7 separate regions of the Homo sapiens genome follow, and all the other regions are linked to region 1. Evidence: promoter capture Hi-C in human tissues and cell types (Jung and others, 2019). All regions are on one chromosome and are shown on one strand. The core of a region is centred on a gene start or on the middle of the fragment in contact, and the rest is flanking DNA. Distances in the headings are between cores, read along the strand shown.

The links. Contacts are between HindIII fragments. The study calls those that stand out against the background at their distance.
Region 2: a fragment that was not itself captured here is called in contact with the fragment with the promoter of SEMA6A in region 1 in 1 of the 25 tissues and cell types used here (lymphoblastoid cells).
Region 3: a contact is called between a fragment that was not itself captured here and the fragment with the promoter of SEMA6A in region 1, in 2 of the 25 tissues and cell types used here (H1 embryonic stem cells and mesendoderm cells).
Region 4: a contact is called between a fragment that was not itself captured here and the fragment with the promoter of SEMA6A in region 1, in 2 of the 25 tissues and cell types used here (mesenchymal stem cells and neural progenitor cells).
Region 5: a contact is called between a fragment that was not itself captured here and the fragment with the promoter of SEMA6A in region 1, in 2 of the 25 tissues and cell types used here (lymphoblastoid cells and neural progenitor cells).
Region 6: a contact is called between a fragment that was not itself captured here and the fragment with the promoter of SEMA6A in region 1, in 1 of the 25 tissues and cell types used here (heart left ventricle).
Region 7: a fragment that was not itself captured here is called in contact with the fragment with the promoter of SEMA6A in region 1 in 2 of the 25 tissues and cell types used here (lymphoblastoid cells and thymus).

Annotation. Positions count from the first base shown.
Region 1 is chr5:116,573,493-116,576,192 of GRCh38, forward strand. It overlaps SEMA6A (semaphorin 6A), which reads right to left and starts at 1,331. Exons shown (of 19, transcript NM_020796.5): 1 at 693-1,331. SEMA6A-AS2 (SEMA6A antisense RNA 2) reads left to right here and starts at 926. Exons shown (of 3, transcript NR_147170.1): 1 at 926-1,047. RefSeq lists a silencer at 1,087-1,166. The HindIII fragment of the contact is 11,240 bases long and covers 1-2,700 here.
Region 2 is chr5:116,895,709-116,898,408 of GRCh38, forward strand. No RefSeq gene overlaps it. Among named protein-coding and RNA genes, the nearest start is that of LINC02214, 130 kb to the left of the region's middle. The HindIII fragment of the contact is 4,439 bases long and covers 1-2,700 here.
Region 3 is chr5:116,868,568-116,871,267 of GRCh38, forward strand. No RefSeq gene overlaps it. Among named protein-coding and RNA genes, the nearest start is that of LINC02214, 110 kb to the left of the region's middle. The HindIII fragment of the contact is 6,591 bases long and covers 1-2,700 here.
Region 4 is chr5:117,069,278-117,072,022 of GRCh38, forward strand. No RefSeq gene overlaps it. Among named protein-coding and RNA genes, the nearest start is that of LINC02214, 310 kb to the left of the region's middle. The HindIII fragment of the contact is 3,121 bases long and covers 1-2,745 here.
Region 5 is chr5:116,911,872-116,914,571 of GRCh38, forward strand. It overlaps LOC105379136 (a long non-coding RNA gene), which reads left to right. Exons shown (of 3, transcript XR_948692.2): 2 at 395-434; 3 at 1,668-1,723. The region is part of intron 1 of LOC105379135 (a long non-coding RNA gene); the gene reads right to left. Among named protein-coding and RNA genes, the nearest start is that of LINC02214, 150 kb to the left of the region's middle. The HindIII fragment of the contact is 5,708 bases long and covers 1-2,700 here.
Region 6 is chr5:116,847,049-116,849,748 of GRCh38, forward strand. No RefSeq gene overlaps it. Among named protein-coding and RNA genes, the nearest start is that of LINC02214, 86 kb to the left of the region's middle. The HindIII fragment of the contact is 8,367 bases long and covers 1-2,700 here.
Region 7 is chr5:116,993,978-116,996,735 of GRCh38, forward strand. No RefSeq gene overlaps it. Among named protein-coding and RNA genes, the nearest start is that of LINC02214, 230 kb to the left of the region's middle. The HindIII fragment of the contact is 5,158 bases long and covers 1-2,758 here.

The DNA of each region.
Region 1 (2,700 bases), core at 81-2,580:
GCTCCCGGACACTTATTCGAGCAAACAAAGCCCGGAACCTCTGGTGGCAGCGGCCACAGGAGCCAGGATCTCACCGAGAGACAGGGCGCGCGGGTGCCTAGAGCCATTACAAGTTTCTTGCACTCCACGGAGCCCAGCCCAGACCCCACACTGACAACAAAAGATTCTCTCCGCTTCCACACCGTCTCCGCGGAACCCCTTCTCCCACCTGGCACTGGACGAAAACAGCGCTGTTATACCCAACCCCCTCCAGCCCTCGAGGGCAGAACCCCTTCCCCTGCCTTCGACACACCGGGCCAGGGAGCTTCCGAGAATCCCACCATTTAGGGCCCGCTCTGCTCCCTGCTGGGCACGCGGGAGGATGAGCCTTGGGTCTCGCACACACACCCCCAGGAGGAACAGCCATACGCGCCGTCGCGGCCCGGGGCGGCGCCGGGCGTGTGCGCAACGCGGGTGGGAAAGCTCTCGACGTGGAGCCGGACGCACTCTGGGGCGCAGGGCAGAGAGGAAAGGCAGGCAGGGCTCACGGCTGCTCCCCCAGGACCGGGCAAGGCTCGGGAAACAGAGACACAAGACAAAATAAAACGCAGGCACCACAAAGCCGACAGCACGCGCTAGCCACGGCCCCGGGACCCTCAGGCTGGAGTCCAGCTGCCCGGGAGGTGGGGCGCGCCCGGGCGCCCGGGGCGTACCTTTTCGGTGCATCGACGGACAGGCGGCCGGGGCTCGGAGCGAACTGGTACAGCGTGTATCCCATTTAGTAATCCATTATCGAGGGGATCTCTCCGGGCCGCGGGCTGCGCTCTCTCCTTCGCAAGCCTTTGTCATTCCTACATGTGTGCTTGTCTCTTTGGGGGAAATAGTCGCGGCGACTACTTTCTGGGATGCAAACGCGATGTGTTCATCTCCAATGACGAGCGGAGAAGGGGAGAGGAAAAAAGAAGCCAAAAAAAAAAAGAAGAAAAAGAAAAAGAAAACCAACAAGGAAGAGGGTAAATGTTCAAGAAACTCTTCTCCAAATCCAAATTCCACTTGGATTCCACTTCGGTGAGTCCCCTTGGTGGTGTCTGCGCCGATTAACAAGTCATTTCAGGGCGGGGGGCGGGGTGGGGGCTGGGGCAGGGGTGCAAGGCTCTGGCCCGGCTCTGCGGCCGGCAGCGCGGTGCCGCGGGTGTGGTGATGCTGGCCGCTGCTACACGCTGCTAAGCGGGCATCGCGGGCGACCGGCACCGCGGAGGAGCGCCGCTGCTGGGTTCCGAGCGCCTGGGCAGCCGAGTGCGCGGGGAGCGGAGTTGGCTGCAGCCTCACCCCGTGCCGCTCACTACTCCTCTGTCACCGGAGAGGCCGCCGCTCCCGGGCGGAGCCAAGTCCCGGACTGGATTGCGCAGATCGGACTCTCCTTCCGCAACTCCGCCTACTTTGGCTGGCGTCTCCTCCGACCCAAAGGAGAGCTGTGGTGTATGTGAGTGCGAGTGAGCGAGGCAGAGGCGGAGAAACTACGCGGTGTGGCTGCAGGTGGAGCCTTGGACCAACTGGCCAGCGCCGCTTCCTTCCACCAGGATTCCTGGCCCCACCGCGCGCTAGGCGGAGGCTCAGCGGGGGCGACTCTGGCTGGAGCCCAGCCCTCACCTCCCCCACCCCCACATCTGCTCTAGCTAGGAAAAAAAAAAAGAAAAAAAAAATCCCGGACAGCATTGCTGAGTCCTGCCAAATCAGAAAAATAAATAAAAATAGACGTAGTGCAGGAGCGAGTTACAAGAAAGGTTTTGTTCATCGATTTTCTTAAATGGAAAAGTTTTAAAGGATGAGGGTAAGTGAACGGCGAGCTTTTCTGATTCTGATTACTGTTATCAAGAGGTAGATTCCAGAAGCGATGGACGCTCTACGTAGTTAGATGAATTGGATAGAAGCCGGTGCGGTTAAAAATACACTTGGAAGATAAGAACACAGCTATTAATTACGCACATACACACGTTAATAAAGCATGTGAAGTAAGCAAATAAACTACAGTGCAGAGAATGGCGTTTTTAACGACGGCGATCTATTTTAAAACTTAATGAAGTTCACATTTTGTGGACTGGTCTTAGAAATAAGTAAACTTCAGAAATAACACGCATACAATTCCAGTGAGAACCCAAAAGGTTTATGGAAGAAGAAAATCGCAACCACTTCCAAGGCGCTATTGTTATGATCACATGAAGAATGGCAGGCACAGCCTTCTTTCACCACTTGAACTTTCAATAGCTACAAAGTCTTGCAGTTACAGGCTTGTGCCAACTCGTCGGGCCACACCACGTTCCCCTCCCCCTGCCGCTGCGCCCCGAAATCAACTGCGCGCCGCGGCTCTTGCTCCCCAAGGGGGCTTCGCAGATGGTACGGATCCTAGTCGCAACCTTTAAACAAAGTAACATCGGGCGGCCCAGCAGTTCTCGGAGAGATATTTACTAGTCATGGAGTTGGCTGAGAAAAGCAAGTGCGGAGATCGGGGTCTCAGTCCCACTTAGGCCGAGTTTCTTTATATTGGAAACTGTACCTGTTCCCTAATTGGGACTAAGACCACTAATAAGTCCACGTTCCCTCTTTGGTCGCTTCTCTAAGTACAGACATCTGCTTAAGAGGCTTCACGAAGAATAAATGCACATGGGTCAACACCCATTCCCCCCGCACCACTACCACCACCTGGAAAAGGTAGGGAGAATG
Region 2 (2,700 bases), core at 76-2,575, 320 kb after region 1:
TAACAAGAGAAAAGCATACATATTCATTTCATATAAGCTTTATGTGACATGGGAATAACTGTAAAGAAGTGAAAACTCAAATAAATGGTTAAACCTGCGTATTTCTATGCTAGGTTTGATGAAAAATGGATAGTATGGATAGTTATGGGTAAATGTACCAGGTCAAAAAGGGTATGATCTAATGGTAACAAACTGAGGGAAATGTAGTGAGACCCATTTGTTCAGATTCTTCTCTGTGACCCTTTGTCTTCAGAGATATGGATATTCATAAGACCCCCATGTGAGACGTACTCTCCATGTACCAATAGGATAGGAACTTCCATATCTTATGAAAGTCAGAAAATTCATCCTAGGTTTTATGACCTGCTTCAGGAAAGAGTGGTGTGGGGAGGGTGAGAGTGACCTTCTTGTTTCTGTTGCTTTCTCAAATGCCAAGGTGCCATATTTTGGGGAAGTATATTCTGAACCCAATCAGTATTCATCTCCTTCTTCTCTAACCCCTGGCAACCACTGATCTTTATACTGTCTCTACAGTTTTGACTTTTCCAGAATGTCATATAGTTCAGGTCATGCAGTATGTGGCCTTTTCAGATTGCCTTCTTTCAGTTAGTCTATGCATTTAAGTTTCTTCCCTGTTTTTTCATGGCTTGTCAGCTTATTTCCTTCTACCACTGAGTACTATTCCATTATCTAGATGTACCTGTTTATTTATCTGCACACCTACGGCAGGCCATCTTGGATGCTTCAAAGTTTTGGCAACTATGAATAAAGCTACTATAAATATCCGTGTGCAGAGTTTTTGGTAGGTAAAAGTTTACAAAACCTTTGAGTAAATATCCAGAAATGCAATTGCTGAATCGTATGATAACAGTACGTTTAGTTTTGTAAGAAACTGCTAGACTATTTTCCAAAATGACTATAGCATTTTGCATTCCCAGCAACAATCAAAGAAAGTTCTTGTTGCTCCATGTGCACTTTATTTCTAACTGCCTAACATTCAGTTGTATGTATGAATATTACATGTTACTTATTTTTTTAAGAAATACCAAACTGTTTTCCACAATGTCTATACCAATATACCTTCCACTAGCAATGTATGAGGGTTCCAATTTTAATACATTATCAGCAATTCCTTTTATATTCTGATTTAAAAAAATTATAGTAATTCAGGTGGGTGGTATGTCATTATGATTTTGATTTTCATTTTTCTAACCCCCAATGATGTTAAACATCTTTGCATGTACTTATTGATATTTGTATTCATGTATCTTTTTGGGAGTTACACTTATTCAAATCTTTTGCCCCTTTTTTTTCCTTTTGTTAGTGAGTTGTAAGAGTGATTTATATATTCTAGATACTAGACCTTTTTCAAATATGTGATTTGCAAATATTCTCTCCCATTTTGTAGGTTGCATTTTCATTTTCTCAATAATGTTCTTTGTTGTTGTTGTAGTTGTTGTTGTTTTTGTTAAGACAGGGTCTTAATAAAAGCTGGAGTTCAGTGGTGTAATCATAGCTCTCTCTGCAGCTTTGACCTCCTGGGCTCAAGTGATCCTCCCACCTTGGCCTTCCATTTACTGAGATGGACAACACTGGAAATAAAAAGACAGGTTTGGGGAGAATAATTAACATGCTGTTTTAGATTTGTCGATGTTTTAGATTTTTATTTGACATCTACAAGAGCAAAGCTGGAGATATAAAATTTGGAAGTCAATAGCATATTTGTTCTTTAAGGTCTTGTGACTTGATGAGATTACATAGGAGCAGACTCTAATAGAGAGCTAATGAGGTCACAATACTGAACCCTCGTGTCTTTCTGACATTTGGAGGTTGGTAAAAGAGGATTCATTAAGTGGGAGAAAAACCAGAAGACAACTTGACTTTAGAGCTGGATAAGTAAAAATTAAAATAATATTGATAGTTATAGTAATAAGGATGAGTATAACACAAGGTGGGGAACTGTCTTCGTTTGGGAAACTCCTTGATAGTTATGTTAAATCTGTCTCTTAGAGTACAGATTTGAACAAAATAAAAAAAAAGATTGCTAATCTGCTATTCATAAAAGATAAGCAGGAATTTGGAGGACAGGGAGAATTTTAGTGAGGGTATTGGGAATAAGGGCAGAGTGAATGACTAAACAACACAGTAGGGTGGCTGAAGAACTTCTAGATTTTAAGTTATTTTAATAGCTAGAAGTCAATTCATCTGTTTCCCCAAGACTTCAGTAATATGTGCTACATAGAAAAGAGCTTTTAGTGACTGGTGTGTGTGTGTCTCTGTGTGCATATGTGTATTCATGTGTGCAACAATGAAGACACTCATATAGATTGGGTTCGGAGCTGAGCAGAGAGGAGGGGCAGAAGAGGCCACCCGTCTTGAGAGAAGAGTGGAATGCAGACTTATGTAGCAATAGAAATTTGAAGGCAGAATGGACATGGGAAGGGAAGTCATCGGGAATGCAGAGACATCTGGGGGTCTGGGATTGAACTACCTTCTAGGTTATACCTCTATGACCTACTAGCTGCCTGATTCCTCCACCATGTTAACTGCTTTGGACTAGGATCTCTTGTTACTTAACTCTTAGTATTTATGCTGATTTCCTTAGTTGCTTGGACTCCCATTCCTGCCTGCTGCTGGACAACACCATTGGGTTATCACTTTGCTCTGGCAGTACTCTTTCCTTTTAAAATAGGCCAAATG
Region 3 (2,700 bases), core at 196-2,695, 300 kb after region 1:
AAGTTGCAAAAATGATGCAGAGAGTTCCCATTTACTCCACATCCTATTTCCCCTAGTGTTGGCATCTTACATTTATTTAGTGTGTTTGTTACAATTAATAAAACAATACTGATATTTTTTTTTTTTTTTGAGACAGGATCTTGCTGTGTTGCCCAGGCTGGAGTGTAGTGGTGCAATCACTGTTTGCTGCAACCTTGACTTCCTGGGCTCAAGGGATCCTCTCACCTCAGCCTCCTTAGTAGTGAGGACCACAGGTGCATGCCATTATGCCCGGCTAATTTTTTTTTTTCTGTAGAGGCAGGATTTTCCCATGTTGCCCAGGTTGGTCTCAAACTCCTGAGCTCAAGCAATCTGCTGGCCTCAGCCCCGCAAAGTGCTGGGATTACAGGCATGAGTCACTGTGCCCATCCCTGATACATTATTAATAACTAACATCCATATTTTATTCATATTATCTTTGTTTTTACCTAATGTCCTTTTTCTGTTCCAGGATCCCATCTGAGATAACCATCATGTCTCTTTAGCTTCTTTAGACTTTGACAGTTTCTCAGACTTTTCTTGTTTTGATGACCTTGACAGTTTAAGGGTACTGGTCAGGTATTTTGTAGAATGTCCTGGCTATGGTCTGAATGTTTGTGCCATTATTCACCCCTACCTGCCCCTGCCCCATGATAAATTTATCTGTTAAAATCCTGTACCCCAAGGTGATGGTATTAGCAGGTGTATTAGTCTGTTTTCATGCTGCTGTTAAAGACATACCCAAGACTGGGAAGAAAAAGAGGTTTAATTGAACTTGCAGTTCCACATGGCTGGGGAGGACTCAGAATCATGGCTGGAGGCAAAAGGCACTTCTTATGTGGTGGTGGCAAGAGAAAATGAGGAAGATGTAAAAGCAGAAACCCTTGACAAAACCATCAAATCTTGTGAGACTTATTCACTACCACAAAGAAAGTATGGGGGAAACTGCCCCCATGATACAAATTATGTACCACTGGGTCCCTCCCACAACACGTGGGAATTATGGGAGTCCAATTCAAGATGAGATTTGGGTGGGGACACAGAGCCAAGCCATATCAGCAGGTAAAGCCTTTGGGAAGTAATTTAATCATGGGGCAGAGCCCTTACAAATGAGATTAGTGCCCTTAACCAGGAAACTACAGAGAACTAGCTAGTCTCTTCTGCCACGTGAACACAGTGAAAAGGTACCACCATTAATAAGGAAATAGGCCCTCACCAGACACAGAATCTGTTGATATCTTGATCTGGGACTTCTCAGTCTCCAGGAGTATGAGCAATACATTTCTGTTGTCAATAAGCTACCCAGTTTATGATATTTTGTTATAACAGCCCAAATGAACTAAGATAGAAATTGGTACCAGAAATGGAATGGTGCTGTAACAAATACCTGAAATGTGGAAATGGCTGTGGAACTGGGTAATAGAGAGAGGCTGGGAGAGTTTTGAGGTGCATATCTAAGAAATCACAAAATCATAAACAATGTTGATAGGAATATGGACAGTAAAGTCCATTTTGATGACATCTCAGGTGGAAATGGGGAATATTTGATTAGACACTGGAGAAAAGGCCATCCTTACTGAAAAAGGGGCAAAGAACTTGTCTGAATTGTGTTCATGCCCTAGTATTTGTGGAAAAGATGGAAAAAGATGGAACTTGTGAATGATAACATAGGAAATGAAGCTGGGGACATTTCTTAGCAAAGTGTTGATGTTGAGGGTGCAGCTTCAGCTTGGCTTCTCTTGTTCTCTTGGAGGCAGATAGTAAAATGTAAGAAGAGTGAAATGATTTAAAGATGGGATTTTTAATCAAAAGAGAAGCAGAATGCAAAGATTTGGAAAATTATCACTTTGTCCATATTTAAAGGAATTAGAAAGTATATTTGAGAGAGACCACCAAAGTTATGGCCAAACTGCTGTTTGATAAAGAGGAGATTAGTATGGAGTTGTCAAGTGGTAGTCATTCAGACAATGGAAGAATAACAACAAAGGAAGTTTGGAGACCATCACTGATGCCCCTCTCATTGGAGGCCCAGAGTGCAAAAGCCTCGGGGGCAGAATGATTTTAAATGAGGGATCATGGGCTTCTACAGGACCTTCTTACTGGCTGCCTGGCACCCCTTCAAGGCTCTGCTCCCTGCATTCTAGCTCAGTGCTCCTTAGCCACCCCAGATTTTAGATCCAGTGGGCCCAAGTGCAGTGCAGGTACAATAACCACTCTGCAAAAGGGCACAACTGGTAAACCCTGGCAGTGTCTCGGTGGTGCCATCTCCACGGCCATACAGAGTCCATGAGCTGTGGAGTGTGGTTACCTCCACTTAGATTTAGAAGGATGGAGCCTCCTGGACCCTTGGGCATATGACCCAGACAGAGGGCCACTGTGGGGCTAGGCCACAACAAAGAACCCCCAGCAGGGCAATGACTAGTGGAGCCATGGGGGCAAGGCTGCCTCTGAAACCTCTGACTAGTAGAGTCACCAGGTGTGATTCCAGCCTGGGAGAGCTTAAGGCACTTGGCTATAACTAGTAAGAGCTGTGGTGTGGGCTGTGCCCAGCAAAGCCACAGGGCAGGGCTACCTGGAGCTCTGGGGGCCTAACTCTTACTCCAATGTGTCTAGAGGGTGGAACATTGAGTCAAAGGTTATTGGTTATTTTTGAGACTTAAGATTTAATGTTGTTTGCCCTGT
Region 4 (2,745 bases), core at 175-2,674, 500 kb after region 1:
AACAACACAAACTTATGATCTTACAGTTTTGGAGGTCAGAAGTCTGAAATGGGTATTACTAGGCTTAAGTCAAAGTATCAGTAGGGGAATAAGCCTTCTGGACACTCTAGAGGAGAATCTGGTTTCTTGCTAGCTTATGGCCCCTTTCTATCTTCAAAGCCAGCAGCAGTGGGTTGAGTCCTTACATAGAATCATTCCAACCTTGCTTCTGTTTTCAAATCTGTGTTTCTGACCCTGAATCTTCTGTCTCCTTCTTTCACATTTAAAGATCTCCTATGATTACATCGGGCCTTCCAGGATAATCCCTTCATTTTAGTGTTAGCTGATGTTAAAATGTAATGTAACAGAATATAGTAACGTGAATTCCACCTGCAACCTTAACTCCCCTTAATGTGTAACATGACATATTCACTGGTGCTTGAGATCAGAACATGGACATCTTTGGTGGGGACATTATTCTGTCTCCTATAGGATGCATATTGTCAAATTGTCAGGTTTCCCATGTAGAAAGAAAAACTGCTTTCTAAAATGCTTTTTTTTTTTTTAATCAATTTACACTTCTACAAGCAATGCATAAGAAAGTCTGTTGTGCTATATCCTCATTATATTTTATTTAAAAATTTTGTAATCTAGTGGATGTGAAATATTTCATTGTAATGTAAGTTTGTATGTCTCTCATTCCTTGTGAAGTTGAACATATTTTCAAATAATTATGGGCAGTTTTGTTTCATCTTTTAAAAAATTAGCATTTTAAATTGACAATTTGTAATAGTATATATTTTGGGGGTACAATATGATGTTTTGATATGCATATACAATGTGAAATGATTTAATCAATATAATTAACATATCCATCACTTGATTTACTTATCATTTTTGTGGAGAGACTTTTGAAATTTACTCTTTTTTTTTTTGAAATATACAATACAGCCATGTGGTAGTTCTGTTGTTAGTCTTCTGATGAACCTCCATACAAATTTCATGATGGTTGTAACAAATTAGTCCCACCAATAATGTACAAGAGTTCCCTTTTCCTTGCATCCTTGTCAATATTTTTTTTCCTTTTGCTTTTTTGATCACAGCCGTTCTAAAAGGTGTGAGATAATATTTTACTGTGGCTTTAATCAGCATTTTCCTAATGATTAGTGATGCTAAGCATTTTTCAATGTACCTGTTGGCCATTTGTAGTCTTATATTGAGAAATGTCTGTTCAAGTCCTTTGCCATTTTAAAAATTAGCTTGTGTTCTTGCTGTTGACTAGTTTGATTTCCTTATATATTTTGAATATTAGCCTTTTATCAGATGTGTTGTTTGAAAATATTTTCTCCCATTTTGTGGGTTATCTCTTCACTTTGTTAATTGTTTCATTTACTGTGCAGAAATTTGTTAGTTTGATGCCATCGCATTTACCCATTTTTGCTTCTGTTGCCTGTGTTTTCAGGATCATATCCAAAAAATTGTTGCCCAATATCATGAAGCTTTTCTTATATTTTTTATTCTAGTGGTTTTACAGTTTCAGGTCTTTCATTTGAGTTGATTTTTGTATATGATGTGAGATAAGTATCCAATTTCGTTCCATGGCATCAAGTTTTCCCAGCATCATTTATTGAAAAGACTATTTTTTCCCTACTGTGTGTCCTTAGTACCTTCATCAAAAACCATCGACTATAAATGTGTGAGTTTATTTCTAGGCTTTGTATCCTGTTTCATTGGCCAATGTACCTGTTTTTATGCCAATACTATGCTGTTTTGGTTGCAACCACTTTATAATATATTTTTAAATCAGGGAATGTGATGTTTACAGCTTTTTCTTTTTGCTCAAGATTGTCTTGGCTATTCAGGTCTTCTGTAGTTCCATATGAATTTAAAGGCTGTTTTTTCTATGACTGTGAAGGATGACACTGGAACTTTGATAGCGATTGCATTAAATCACAGATCACTTTGGATAGTATAGACATTATTACAATATTAATTCTTGGTTGGCAGTTTTATTTTTCTTTCAGCGTTTTGAATATATCATCTCACTCTCTCTGGGTGTGCAGGGTTTCTTCTGAGAGATCTGCTGAGGGCTGTATTGGGGCTCTTGAGTATATTATGCTTCTTTTGCAGCTTTCAATATTCTTGCTTTGTCTTTGATGTTTCTTAATTTGATTATCACGTGTCTTAATGAAATCGTTAGGTTGAATTTTACTGAAGACCTCTGAGTTTATGTACCTGGATGTTGTCATATTTCTGTAGACTTGGGAAAGTTTTAGCCATTATTTCCTTAAATATGTTCCTGGGCCTTTTAATTTCTCTTCTACTTCTGGAACTCCTATCATGTGAAGATTAGTTCACTCGCTGGTGTCCCATCATTTTATTGGCCTTTTTCATTCTTTTTTCGTCTCTGACAGAGTAATTTCAAATGTTTTATCTTTGAGCTCATTGATTCTTTCTTCTGGTTGATCAAGTCTACTCTTGAAGCTTTATGTTGAATTTTTCAGTTCAGTTATTTTATTCTTTATCTCTAGGATTTCTATTTGATTTCCAAAAAAGTTCCTATTTCTTTGTCAGATTTCTCATTTTGTTGATGAATTATTTGCCACATTAAAAAAAAATGTCCTACCTGCATGTCCTTGGAATTTCCTGAACTTTAAGAGGATTGTTCTGGATTATTTGTCAGTTATTTCATAGATCTCTATTTCTTCTGGGTCCATTGTTGAAGCTTTATTATCTCTTTTGATGGTGTCATATTTCCCTGATTTT
Region 5 (2,700 bases), core at 94-2,593, 340 kb after region 1:
ACATCTCTCCATTGTCTCCCTTTGCGTGTGGGCTTTGTCTCCCATCAGTGTCCAGTAGAAGTTTTTGTATGACTTAGATGGAGCCATCCACCATAAAGTGGTGACAATGATCCACTATGGTGAACTTCACTGACGGGAGAAGAGTGTAGAGCAAGATCAGATCTGCCTAAAGCTGAGAACATCCTTGTGGTGCTGGTTGTAGAAAAAATCTCCAGTGAACCCGTCTTAGGTCATTCTGTTTTCTCAGATTTTTTGCCACCACCATGCTAAAGACTGGTAAAAACCAAAGAAGTTTGTATTTTCTTATGTCTGTTATTTTAAGTAAAGATGGCAGTATGGGCAAAGTAAGGCACAGAAACTTCAAACATTTGCCTAATTTTTTTTTCTTTTCCAGGACAGCAGTTCCCTTCTCATTTGGGATCGTTTTTGCCTGTGTAAGTATATTTTTCAGGGTCCAGTGAACTGAGAAGTGCTGTTCATTATGAGGTGATGGCTCAGATCAGCCTTGTTGGTGTAGAATGGAATGTCCCAATGATGATGGCAGCTGTGCTTGTCTACTTGTTTGTTCTAAACAGTTTCTACACATTTACAGGGTGATTTATTGCAAGCCCAGCTGCTTTACTTATTTTGTCAGTAGTTGAAATTAAAAATAATTCATTTGTAATTGAATCTCAGAGAGAAATAATATTAAATATACTTTCAGTCAGAGAAGGGGCAGAAAGTGGAAGTTTGTCTCATGAGTTAAAGCCATCTGTACGAAGATGCGCGGTTGTTTAGGGCGGACCTGTGGATGGTGGTTGGAATGCATTTTTAACTTCAGGACATGCTTTCTTTTGGGGTTTGAGCTTAAAAATAACTGTGTTTTTATGATTAGCATGACTAGCACTAGTAATCCAGAAATGAAATAAGACTTTAAAACACATGTGCATACATTCACGCCTACACACATGTATTCTTGCACACACACACACACACACACACACAAACAGTACTGCATAGATTCAGAATGAAAGTTCAAAAAGACCCAAGTGGAAACATTTCTAATAGAACTAAATGAAAGGAACACTGGAGACTGAAGCAAAGAAGGGATTTAGTAAAGGTCAGAGAAAGCTACAGTTCGTTAGCAATGGTTCTGACAACAGTTTTTGCAGTTACTGTGTCCTTCAGAATAGAGAATTGGGTTACACTGACGACTTCATTCAGGCCTCTTTTTTGTTTTTGTTTTTGTTTTTGTTTTTGTTTTTGAGATGGAGTTTCGCTCTTGTTGCCCAGGCTGGAGTGCAGTGGCGCTATCTCGGCTCACTACAACCTCCGCCTCCCTGGTTCAAGCGATTCTCCTGCCTTGGCCTCCCAAGTAGCTGGGATTACAGGCATGCGCCACCATGCCCAGCTAATTTTTTGTATTTTTAGTAGAGATGGGGTTTCTCCATGTTGGTCAGGCTGGTCTCAAGCTCCTGACCTCAGGTAATCCTCCTGCCTCAGCCTCCCAAAGTGCTGGGATTACAGGCATGAGACACCACGCCCGGCCACCATTTGTTTTTTTAAGCAGCATTCACTTTCTCCATTTATTCATATTCTTTCATTTGTTTACATATTTGTTTATTTATTCCATCAGTCATTTTAAGAGGAGTTTACTGGGAGACTTGTGTATTCTTTCTTCTTTGTAGGGTCTGTGGTAACCCAAAGTCACATGGATGAAGCCTCTGCTTCATGTGAGTGTCCTAGGGAGACAGGTTTGTAATACATTGTTTTTGTAGTGAGTACGTGGAGATAGTTGTAGAGACAAAGTGCTGTGGGACCACGAAAGAGTGACAGCAGTTTTACTAAGGACAGCAGTTGGTGAGGTTCTTATAATTGGTCCCTGACCATTCAGCTTGTCTTGCCATCCAAGATCCCCTTGGCTAAATTCCAGGTGAGTCTGTTTTCTCTTTTTCTATCTCCACTTGTTTTCCTTCTTACCATCCTTTCTCTAGGCTTTACATCTCCTTTCTCATTCATTGAAGACTTGAGTTAACCATTTTTTTCCTTCTAATTTGTGGGGAAAGGTGCCATTTTCCTTGGCCTTCTGTGTTGTGTGTTGACCTAAACATCAGGGAAGTCCTTTCCATCAAAACATTAATGCATCAGTCTCACAGTATAACAAACACAACTCTCTACAATATGATCTTATCATACCTGGGAACCTAGGAGTCAGAGTTGTGAGGCATAAAGAAATCAGATGCTGTGCATGATTTTGTTTGGTGGAAGAGAATAAATCAAGGAATCACAGGTTCCAGGTGACTTCTGAGAAAAATGTGTTGCTTCTTTGAAAGGTAGGATACAGGATTCTAAAAAGGCCTCTGGGCTACTAAAGGGTTGAGAAAATACTTAGATATATTGGATTTCACAGTGGTAAACTTATTACAAAGAATATTTAAATGAAAGGTAGTTGCTATGTGACACAGATATGGAGAAGAGATGATGTCATTAGAGACATCTTCATTTGAACGGTATGGGCTTCACATGGATGGTAGAAGTGAAGTCACAGTTTCCTTCCACTCATGTCACTGCATGCAGTGGCATCTTATCATGTCACTTGAAAAGATTCTTGAAAGCCATTGTCAAACGACTGAAAGAAGAAGACAAGCAGATGAGCTATTCTCTGGAATACAAGTAAGGGAAGACACAGAGACCAGAGGCTACCTCAAGGCCCACAGACAG
Region 6 (2,700 bases), core at 68-2,567, 270 kb after region 1:
ATTTTTAGTAGAGATGGAGTTTCACCATGTTGGCCAGGCTGGTTTCGAACTCCTGACCTCAGGTGACCCACCTGCCTTGGCCTTCCAAAGTGCTAGGATTACAGGCGTGAACCACCGTGCCTGGCCATGATTGCTATTTATAATAAAATAATATTCTAAGAGACCAAGTTTTCCCCTTCAAATTCCAAGTACCTTTGATTCTGAGCTGCCTTCTCCCTTGAGTTCCTCTTCCCCAATTTAGTCATTGGTGCTCATGCCTAAGGGAAAATATAATACAGTTTTTAAGCTGCAAGAACATGTTTTGGAAACTTTGAAACACTCAGTATATAAAGCTTATGCTATAAAAAATAGATTTCAGATTAGCTGAAAATTCTTGTGACTGTCATAGGGATGGGAAAGTGACGGAAGTAAATCGGAAAGCAAAGAAGGGAAGTACAACTATGGTGGGTCTCAGAAAGGAGCCTAAGCTCTGCCCCATTGTTAGAGTCTAAAAAAGGGGAGATGAAAGGTTTGAGTACTGTTGGAGATGTTTGGATATCCAAAGGCAAAGCCTACCCAGGCTATCCTTTCAAAGGTGCAGTATATGAGGCTATTTGTGGGCATCTAGAAAAAAGGGCCATAGATAGCCCCAGCAGCTTTTCTCCAACTCCTGAATTTATCATGTGGATGAGAGAGGGGCAAGCCAACAGCTGAAAGGAAAAGCTAGACCAGAGAAGCCCCTGTGCACAGGTTGAGAAGGCCCCTCATCCCCTTGCCCATCTAAGTTTATGCAATGATATTGTGCATCTTCCTAAACATCAACCCCATTTTTCAAGTTGCACTGGGCAAAAACTATCCAATGCAATGAAAGGGAGAGAGATTTCATTATTGCTCCCTTTCTCTCACACCCCACATCCAATTCTGGGAAATCTAGTACTGCTCCACCTTTGAAAAGTTTTTAGAATTCAGCTACCTCTTACCAGCTCCATGCTACTGCCTCAGAACAAGTCTCTATCCTCATCCTCTTCCATGCCTTATTGCCATGACCTCCGTATTGCTTCCTCTTTTATTGCCCTGCACATAGCACCCAGAGTGATCCTTCTGAATAGCGCTCCTGTACTCTGAACCCTTCCGTCACGTAACAGCCCACAAGGTGCCATGCATCCATGCATTAAGGCCCCGTACTGTCTTTCTTATCTTCTCTCCTTCCAGCCTCTCCTTCAACCTGTCTCCTCCAGTCAGTCCCGCTGGTTTTCTTCCTGCCTCCGGAACGTGCCACATCTGTGGAGACCTTTCACTTATAGTCCCTCTTCTTGGAATGCTTTTTACCTGTATTTATTCATGACAAGTTTTCTCACTTTACTCACTTTTCTGCTCAAATATGACCTTATAAAAGAGGGCCTTTGGACCCACTTGTTTTTTTTGTTTTTTTTTTTCTCTTTTTAAGACAGAGTTTCACTCTTGTTGCCCAGGCTGGAGTACAGTGGCACTATCTCGGCTCACCGCAACCTCTGCCTCCCAGGTTCAAGCGATTCTCCTGCCTCAGCCTCCCAAGTAGCTGGGATTACAGGCATGTGCCACCAGGCCCGGCTAATTTTGTATTTTTAGTAGATACGGGGTTTCTCCATGTTGGTCAGGCTGGTTTCAAACTCCCGACCTCAGGCAATCCACCTGCCTCAGCCTCCCAAAGTGCTGGGATTACAGGCGTAAGCCACTGCGCCCAACCTTGGCCACAGTCTCTCATCTCTCCCTCTTTCTTTTATTTTGCTTTATTTTTCTTCTTAGCATTCACTGTTTGGATAAGATATATGTACTTATTTATTGTCTGTCTTCTCTTACTAGAATGTAAGTTTGACAAAAGCAGTCTGTTTACTACTATGCCAGTGACACAGTAGCCCTTCAATAAATATTTGTTGAATGACTAAATGAATGAATGAATGAATGAATTTGCATACTTGTCAGGGGCTTTGATACTCTGGCCCCTAGTATTACCTATTCTTAAATAAACTGTGAAATAGTCTTAGTCTGCGTCCTCTCCAAAGCAGAGCCTCAGATAAAGACTATGTGTGGATAACTTACTTAGAATGTGATCTTAGGCGTGGGAGTGAGGGTTGAGGGAATTAAGCAGTGAAAGCCAATCTAAAGGCAATTTAACCATTGCTACAGCAGCATATGGTGCAATCACACAGGATCGTCTAAGTAGGATCCTCTTCTTGGCTAGCCAAGGGTGGTCCTCTGGGGCATTAACTCCTCTGCACTCTGGGTTCATTACATATGAGTGTCAAGAGAGTAACCACTAGAGTGTCACATGATGACAACAGAGAAGTGCTAAGGTCAGAAGCCAAAAGTGCATGTGTAGGCCAAGGTGAGGTGCTGTCAAAATAGAGCACAAAAGTTGCTCAAAGCCTGTGCAGAACTATACTAATGGCTGGAATAAGGCCAAGAGGATTTAAAGTGATGCACAAGAGGCATGCAATGCAGTCCATTCTCTCAGATTTACTCAGAGAGTACATTATGTCCTCTTCAATTGGTGGTTGGCCACAATATCTGCAGAAATTTAACATAAGTGAAACAACTATAGTCTCTGCTCCTTCACTCCCATTCTAGATTTTCTTTATTTTTAACCAGTTCTCTGACTGATCTAAGTTGTTCGTTTGTTGGATTAATGCAGAGCCTCACCCCTGAGGTTTTGAGGACTTAGCTGCCTTGGTCTGGTCAGGC
Region 7 (2,758 bases), core at 207-2,706, 420 kb after region 1:
TTTATGTAGTTTACTTTGTTCACATATACCTCAACCTGTACCAAACAACAACAGCGCAACATTTAAGATGACTTGCAAAGATAGATAAAATACAGCATAATAAAATACATTTAAAAAAAGACAATGAGGCAAAATGACCATATGTTAGGAAAATAGGAGGAGCCAGAGACAGAAGGGTAGACAAAACAAGCAATAAAATAAGCACATTTGCTAAATATTGGCCACATTAAATCCAACATGAATGAAGAAATAGTAAATTACAAGACTCATGAGGTCCATAAAGTAAAAATAAAGCAACTTTTGGAAAAACTCTTTTGCTACTGCTATTGAGACCAGAGAACATTTTCTCTAAGGAGGCCTCATAAATGATAATAGTATTAATCACTAACATTTAATTCAGTACTTTGCTTCCGTTACCTCATTTAATCTTCATAGAAAACTGGTAGTTATTCTACTTTTAAAGATGAGAAAACTGAAGCACAGAGAGGTTAAAGAAATTCCTTAGAGTCACACAGCTAGTAAGAAGCAGAACTGTGATCCCAACCCAGGTCTATCTGGGTCCCCAGCCAGGGCTTTTATACTAAATCACATCAATTCTTGCAAGTTTCCATGCAGTGTACACTGGAATGAATTGGAAAGGGATTTTCCTGTTTCTCACCACTCCCCACAATAGGCTGCAATGAAATCATTCCAGGCAGAATTAGGCAACGACAATTCCATTGGTAGTCAATCTAACCAACAGTCAAGGATGGATGAAGCTGGAAGTCATCATTCTCAGCAAACTAACACAGGAACAGGAAACTAAACACCATGTGTTCTCACTCATAAGTGGGAGTTGAACAATGAGAACACATGGACACAAGGAGGGAAACATCACACTTCAGGGCCTGCCATGGGACTGGGGGCAAGGGGAGGGAGAGCATTTGGAAAAATAGCTAATGCATGTGGGGCTTAAAACCTAGATGATGGGTTGATAGGTGCAGGAAACCAACAATGCACATGTATACCTATGTAACAAACCTGCATGTTCTGCACATGTATCCCAGAACTTTCAAAAAAAAAAAAAAAAGAATGTATGTCTCACGCTTAATTCTTTTTAGGACACAGCCTTAGAACAGAATGTCACAGTTTGCTGGACAGCCTGTTATGTTGTGAATGGATAACAGGGATGGGGTGAGGATCACCTAAGTCCCCTGGATAACTAGTTGTGTCTTGGATAGCCATAGTCCCAGGCTGGTTGCTTCAGGTCTCATAAACTTGCTCAGTGATCTAAATAGATGGCAGAAACCACGATCTTCAGCTGTCGTTGCTCTTCCAAAACTACCTGAGCCTGGCCAAAGGGGTGCTACCACTTTGCCATCCATTCTAGCCTCCAGTTGTAGAGCATAACCCTTGCCCATTTGTAAAGGGCTCCATGAAAATATTGGAGCTGTTTGTGTTTCTGTACACAGTCCAAGTGTGGCCACACAAAAGTGGGGAAAGGAGAGTGAGGGACAGGGTAGGGAAGGGGTATCTGGCAGGTGCAGTTCAAGTAAACACATAAATATCTCTCTTACATAATAAATACTTCTGTTTGTGACTGAATGTCCTTCTGAGTTGCAGCGTGATGACTAACATACTGCAAATGAGAACTTCATTAAAAAAAACTTGGTATGAAAAAGTGTGATTGGATTTGAGATTCATTTCTACATTACATTAGATAGTAGAAGAAAAACAAGAGCTGAAGCTGCTTGAATAAAAAATGCCAACTGTTGTCAATCTTTAATTGGATATGAAAAATAGCCCTGGACTTCTTTTCTTTTTGTTACCAGCTTTCTTGAGGTATAACTGATGTACGATAAACTGCACATATTTAAAGTGCATAATTTGACAAGTTTGACTTATGTATATACCTGCAAAACCATCACCACAATAAAGAGTGACCTTATGGATTATTCTCAAAAGCTCCCTCTTGTCCCCTTCTCTTCTACCCGCTTGTCACTCACCTTTTTCCTGGCCAGTGCCGGTCTGCTTTCTGTTACTGTAGATTAAATTGCATTTTCTAGACAAGAGTTGGCAAACTACATGGCCTGTGGACCAACTGCCTGTTGTTGTAAACAAAGTTTTATTGAAACACAGCTGCACTCATTCATTTATGTGTTGTCTATGGCTGCTATTGTGCCATAATACCAGAGTCCAGCAGTTGCATCAGAAATTCTATGGTCTCCAAATATTTAATGTCATGCCCTTTACAGAAAAAGTCTATTAACCCTCATTCTAGAGTTCACATAGGTGGAATCATAGGGTATGTACTTTTTTTTTTTTCTGGATTCTTTAATTCACTATAGTTATTTTGAGAGTCATCCATGTTGTTGCATGTAACATAGCTTTTTAATTTTATTACTTTTATTTTTTATTACTGGGCAATAATCCATTGTATGACTATACCAAGATTTGTTTATTTATCTACCTGTTGATGTGCATTTGGATTTTTCCAGTTTGGGGCTATTATAAACAAAGCTTCAATGGACTTTCATGTGCAAGACTTTGTTTCGCCATACTCGTTCTTTATTTTTAGATAAATGCCCAGGAGAGAAATAATTGGCTTATAGAGTAGGTGTATGTCTAACTTGACAAGAAACTGCTAAATAGCTTTCCAGTTGATAGATCCATTTTTTTTTTATTCCCATCATCAGTGTATGAGAGTTTCAGCTCCTCCACAACCTTACCAATGCTTGGTATGGTCAGTCTTTTAAATTTTCACCATGTTACACACTAC